Regions from separate parts of the Homo sapiens genome. Here region 1 is linked to region 2. The links are contacts of gene promoters, found by promoter capture Hi-C in human tissues and cell types (Jung and others, 2019). All regions are on one chromosome and are shown on one strand. The core of a region is centred on a gene start or on the middle of the fragment in contact, and the rest is flanking DNA. Distances in the headings are between cores, read along the strand shown.

Region 1 (3,065 bases), core at 154-2,653, 700 kb before region 2:
TAATTATATAACAAAAATTAGCTGGGCATGGTGGCTGGTGCCTATAATCCCAGCTACTTGGGAGGCTGAGGCAGGAGAATCACTTGAACCCAGGAGGTGGAGGTTGCAGTGTGCCAAGATCGTGCCATTGCACTCCAGCCTGGGCGACAAGAATGAAACTCTGTCTCAAAAAAAAAAAAAAAAAAAGTCTCCAGACATTGTCACATGTCCCCTGGGTGGGAGGAGAGGACAAAATGACCCTGGTTGAAAAACACTGCCCTATAGAAATATGGACCAAGAAGTCTAACAGGCATAACAGGACTGTAACAATAGCTGCTGGAAGGGGGATGCAGATGAGGGGAGAAGATGGCTTTTCTTATCCTTTGTCTCTCCCAACCAGGCTCAGGGTAAATTCCCTTGCACCCTACAATCCTCAGTACCTTTAGATATCCTTGTGCCCAGCACCCTCTCCATTCATGAGACTGGGAAGGATTATGACTTGGGCACCTATATTCAACAGAGCTAAAAATATTTGAGTTCCTCCCCTCCTTTCAGTTCCCCCGCATACTCAGCATTTTCCTTAAAGCAGTTGAGGCTGGGGTACAGGGGAAAGGAAGGGTCAGGAAGTGCAGAGGGAAAGAGCAGTTTCAGGCCAGTAAGCCAGTTTGCATCAGCTTTCCATTTCAAGCAGCTACCAGCAGGTTGGGCTCATTCAAGTGAACATCTGGCTTTGGTCCACCTGAAGCTGTATCTACTTACAGATGACATCATTATTTAAGCTTTGGGGGGACTCCTTGACCAATCAGATACAGCCACTTTTGGCTTCCCCACTTTTGCGGCCTAATTGTCATATAAAGTCCCTTCTTCCTGTTCCTGAGGAGAGTGAGCACAATCAAAGTACCATTTGGGAAGATTGTTTCAACCTTGCCTCTTGCTTAGCCTGTAAACATTCATTAACAGGCAGGAGAGTGAGAGAAATGTACTTTCCCCCTTGCTCCCCACTTTGGTGAGGGCATTTGCTACTGGGTCCTACTAACACAGCCCATGGGGTCTTCCAGAAAGGCACACCTCAGCCAGCACCCTATCTTGTCACCCAAACTGTCAGGGTCTGGGATTTTACCCTATATACAAGCTAGTAACTTAGCCTGTTATTGCTTCATGGATGTTGGCAGAAGACATGAGGCTCTTGGGTCAGAGATAAAGTACTTCACTACATGCGTAACAAGTAGCATGAAAATAAGATTGCATTAGTTCCCCTTGCCACTAAATCCCACAGACGAAATAGGCAGGGGCCCAGATGGAATGCTTAGCATAGTGAATCTGCTTTGTAGATGAGGAAAAGTGAGATTGGAGAATCCACTGCTTTTATAGTAACAAAAAGACATGTCAACAAGAAATACCCAGAATGAATGACAGAGACTAAAGAATGGAAAACATAGGAGACATAAAGGTTATAGTAAGACAGTCTAACATATGTGAAATTATAATTCCAAAAGGAAAAGAGACAGAGAATAGGACAGAAGCAACATTTAAAAGACAATAATTAATTTTTTTGCAACAATGCTGAAATACATTAAGCTATAGATTCAGAAAGTCCTATGAATCTCAGAAAAGAATAAAAGTATAGAAAACTCAAACTGGTGAAAACAAAAGACAATAGAAGATTGTAAAAGTAGCCAGAGAAAAGAAACATTACTTTGAGAACAGGAAGATTTAGACTGACAATGAACTTTCCAACAAAAGCTAGCAAAGCCAGAAGACATGGCTTGATTTTTTTGTTGTTGTTTTTTTCAGGTAGAGTCTCATTCTGTCACTCAGGCGGAGTGCAAGTGGCAAGCAAGAACAGGGATCACTGCAGCCTCGATCTTCTAGGTTCAAGAGATTCTCTCACCTCAGCCTCCTGAGTAGCTGAGACTGTGCACATCCCACCACGCCTGGCTAATTTTTTAAAAAAAATTTTTAGAGATAGAGTCTCACCATGTTGCCCAGGCTTGCCTGGAACTCCTGGGCTCAAGTGATCTTCCCACCTCAGCTTCCCAAAGTGCTGGGATTATACACATGAGCCACCGTGACTGGCCTGGACTGATACTTTTAAATGCTGGAAAAAAATAACTGCCAATCCAATATTTAATATCCAGAAAAAATGTTATTCAACAAAGACAGTAGGCTGGGCACGGTGGCTCATGCCTATAATCCCAGCACTCTAGGAGGCTGAGGCCGGAGGATCGCTTGAGCTCAGGAGTTCCAGACCAGCCTGGACAATATAGTAAGACCCTGTCTCTATAAAAAAAATTAAAAATTATTCAGGCATGGTAGTGCATGCCTGTAGTCCCAGCTATTCAGGAGGCTGAGGTGGAAGGATTGCCTGACCCTGGGAAGTCAAGGTGGCAATGGACTGTGTTCGTGCCACTGCCTTACAGCCTGGGTGACAGAGTGAGGGCCCTAGCACTTTGGGAGGCCGAGGCAGGTGGATCACCTGAGGTCAGGAGTTCGAGACAGCCTGGCCAACACGGTGAAACCCCGTCTCCACTAAAAATACAAAAATTAGTTGGGCATGGTGGTGGGCGCCGATGGTCCCAGCTACTCGGGAGGCTGAGGCACGAGAATCACTTGAACCCAGAGGCAGAGGTTGCAGTTAGCCCAGATTGCACTCTTTTGCCTGGGCAACAGAGCGAGACTCGTCTCAAAAATAAATAAATAAAAAATAAAGACAGTAAAATAAAGACATTTCACAACAAATGAAGCCTGAGAATATTTATCACCAGTAGAAAATGTTTTCTTCTTAATACTTATTCTGTCTTTTCTTGAGACAAGGTCTCACTCTCTGTCACCCAATTATTGATTCTCCTAATGCTAACCATCCTCTCAGCTTTTTACGGCTAGCAATGTGTTTGCCACATACTCATCAACAGAGGGCAGTAGCTCACCATCATTGGTTTAGTTAGCCTGCATGGTACTTTCAAGGATGGACTTGTAACAGACAAATGTATCTTTCTGTGTCGTCTGTTGTCGTTTCCTCCCACCAAGTATGGGAGAAGGGAGGAGAGGAACTACTAAGAAGCAGTCAACAAAAATGGTAAAAGTAT
Region 2 (3,190 bases), core at 438-2,937:
GGTCTCAAACTTCTGGGCTCAAGTGATCCATCCACCTCAGCTTCCCAAAGTGTTGAGATGACAGGTGTGAGCCACCGCACCTGGCCCCTCTTCTTAAAAACAACTATAGGCCGGCCGCGGTGGCTCACGCCTGTAATCTCACCACTTTGGAAGGCCGAGGCGGGCAGATCACAAGGTCAGGAGATCGAGACCATCCTGGCTAACACGGTGAAACCCCGTCTCTACTAAAAATACAAAAAAATTAGCCGGGCATGGTGGTGGGCGCCTGTAGTCCCAGCTACTCGGGAGGCTGAGGCAGGAGAATGGCGTGAACGTGGGAGGCGGTGCTTGCAGTGAGCGGAGATCGCGCCACTGCATTCCAGCCTGGGTGACAGAGTGAGACTCCGTCTCAAAAAAAAAAAAGGGAACTGATTGCTGCTACCTGCAGTAGTCTTTTTCTCTCATGGCCCCTTTATGAGGTATGCAGGTATCCAGACTTAGACCCCTGTTATTCTGCTATGATACTATCTTCCTTAGCACATGTCCGTTGACTTCCATTTTACACTCCCAAAATAAGTCATCTCTCTCCTCAAACAGCTCACATTTGACATAGCCAAAATCAAATTCCCTACCTTCAAACAGAAATGAATACATAAAGAGCTAGAAGCTTTGAAGATAGTCTGGGATTTGAATCAAAGTTATGTGACCTTGGACAAGTAGGTTAACATCATTTCAGTATTTGCTGAATGCATAAACCTCCCTTCCTCCTATGAAAAGTCTCCAAAAAAGGTCCTCTCCCTCCCTTACACTCAGACACAATTTTTATGTCTGTTAATTTAATTATTATTAAGTGTTGGCAAGGACAGGTGGAGGATGGAGTTCTGGAAAAGCACACTAAGGTCTTCTTTAGTCACTAATTCTCATCCCCTATTCCTTGAAAATTTTTCTTTCTAGCCCAGTCTCCAGTCTGTCTCTCCCCAGACAACCCAAAATTCCGTGCCAGATCGGGCCTGATAGTTGTTCATTCATTCCAAAAGCTAGTTGTTCATTCATTCCAAAAGCAATTAACTCTTCCTCTAAGGTATGCTAGACACTGAGACCACAAGGAAAAGGAGCTCCTAGGCACCGACAAAGGCTAGTTTGGGGTGAGGTTATCAAACAGTGACAATACTGAGTGATAAACGCTAGGCAGAGAAAAGCAAAGGGGCCGTATAAGCAGAGACAACGAATCACATTGCATAAGCTGGACAGGGAGAGAAGCAAGGCTTAAAGAGACCTATCCCCTTGCGCAGATAATTAGACTGGAGTCCAGAGTGGATCCTTAATTTGGTCAATCACAGCGCGCCAGCAGTCGGCCAAGGACAGAACTTAGGTCTGCAAGGTGTGTTTTCCCCACCCGTGCCACCTCCCTCGAGGTTTTGGGCTTCACGTCTGAGAGCTGCTACTTTCCTGTGGGCCCACCTCCGAGGTAGCGAGATCCAAGATGCTTCTTTGGGGGCAAGGAAATGGCCCTCCACTCCCTGGCCTCTCGGATGCCTTCTCCCGAGTACCCTCCGCCCCACACCCTTAACCTCCAGGCCCCCGGCAAGGCGCGAACATCCCCACCGCAGGACTCACTCCGAAGATTCGATTTCGATCGACATAGCCGTATCTCTCCGGGAGCAGGCCCCAGCTCTCCCTCAAGGCCAGTCGCGCAACACACCAACGACACCTCCGGCGGACACCTAACGTCACTTCCGCTTGGGTCGGCGTCTGGCTCCCGCTCTGGAGATAGAGTGAACGAAGAGTAGGGGCGAGGTTCGCGTAGGGGCGGAGCCCTCAGGGGCTGTCAGAGGGCGGAGTTTATGCCCCTGCCCCAGAGAAATACGCATCAGGAGGAAGACTGTTTAAAAGCAGGCCGGAGCCGGGTGCGGTGGCTCACGCTTGTAATCCCAACACTTTGGAAGGCCGAGGCGGGCGATCACCTGAGGTCGTGAGTTCGAGACCAGCCTGACCAACATGGAGAAACCCCCGTCTCTACTAAAAATACAAAATTAGCCGGGCGTAGTGGCGCATGCCTGTAATCCCTACTCGGGAGCCTGAGGCAGGAGAATCGCTTGAACCCAGGAGGCGGAGGTTGCGGTGAGCCGAGATCGCGCCATTGCACCCCAGCATGGAAAACAAGAGCGCAACTCCGTCTCAAAAAAAAAAAAAAAAAAAAAAGAAAGATAGAAAAGAAAAAGAAAAAAAGCACCGGGCGCCATACAGCTCACAAATGTACTGAAAAAGAAAAGCGCTGGGGCGGAGCGCGGTGGCTCGCGCCTGTACTCCCAGCGCGCGAGTTCGAGACCAGCCTGGGCAACATGGTGAAGCCCCGTCTCTACTAAAAATACAAAAAATTAGCCGGGCGTGGTGGCGGGGGCGCCTGTAATCTCAGCTACTCGGGAGTCTGTGGCAGGAGAATCGTTTCACCTCTGGAGGTGGATGCGGTGAGCCGAGATCACACCATTGCACTCCAGCCTGGGCAAGGAGAGCAAAATTCCGTCTCAAAAGAAGAAAAGAAAAGTAGTGGTGATAAGATTGTAGTAAGAAAAGCAAAGAAAAGAAAGAAGAAAAGAAAGAAAAGAAAAGAAAGAAAAGAAAGAGCACTGGTTTGGAAAGATTGCTTTTTTTTTGAGACGGAATCTCGCACTGTCGCCCGGGCTGAAGAGCACAATGGCGCGATCTCGGCTCACTGCAAACTCTGCCTCCCGGGTTCAGGAGATTCTCTTGCCTCAGCCTCCGGAGTAGCTGGGATTACAGGTTTCTTGCCATCACGCCAGGCTAATTTTTTGTATTTTTAGTAGAGATGGGATTTCACTATGTTGGTCAGGCTGTTCTCGAACTCCTGACCTCGTGATCCGCCCGCCTCGGTCTCCCAAAGTGCTGGGATTACAGGCGTGAGTCACTGCGCCCAGCCAATGTTGCTTTCGTTTGATGTAATTAGTTGATTAGATTTAAGATGAGGCTGAATATGCAATACCTGATGGGATATTAATACATTCAAAACCAACATAACACTAGCCAAAATTTATAGGAAGAGTTAATTGAGGATTTTGGTTGGTTGGTTGGTTTTGCGTTTTTTTGAATCAAGGACTCGCTTTGTTGCCCATGCTGGAGTGCAGTGTCTCGATCGTGGCACACTGCAGCCTCGACCCCTCCAGCTCAAGCAATCCTCCCACCTCAGCCACCC

What was found. Contacts are between HindIII fragments. The study calls those that stand out against the background at their distance.
Region 1: a contact is called between a fragment that was not itself captured here and the fragment with the promoter of SMU1 in region 2, in 1 of the 25 tissues and cell types used here (dorsolateral prefrontal cortex).

What each region holds. Positions count from the first base shown.
Region 1 is chr9:32,375,804-32,378,868 of GRCh38, forward strand. No RefSeq gene overlaps it. Among named protein-coding and RNA genes, the nearest start is that of ACO1, 7.3 kb to the right of the region's middle. The HindIII fragment of the contact is 4,774 bases long and covers 1-3,065 here.
Region 2 is chr9:33,074,987-33,078,176 of GRCh38, forward strand. It overlaps SMU1 (SMU1 DNA replication regulator and spliceosomal factor), which reads right to left and starts at 1,688. Exons shown (of 12, transcript NM_018225.3): 1 at 1,597-1,688. The coding sequence starts at 1,622. RefSeq lists enhancers at 1,550-1,699, 1,870-2,069. The HindIII fragment of the contact is 9,509 bases long and covers 1-3,190 here.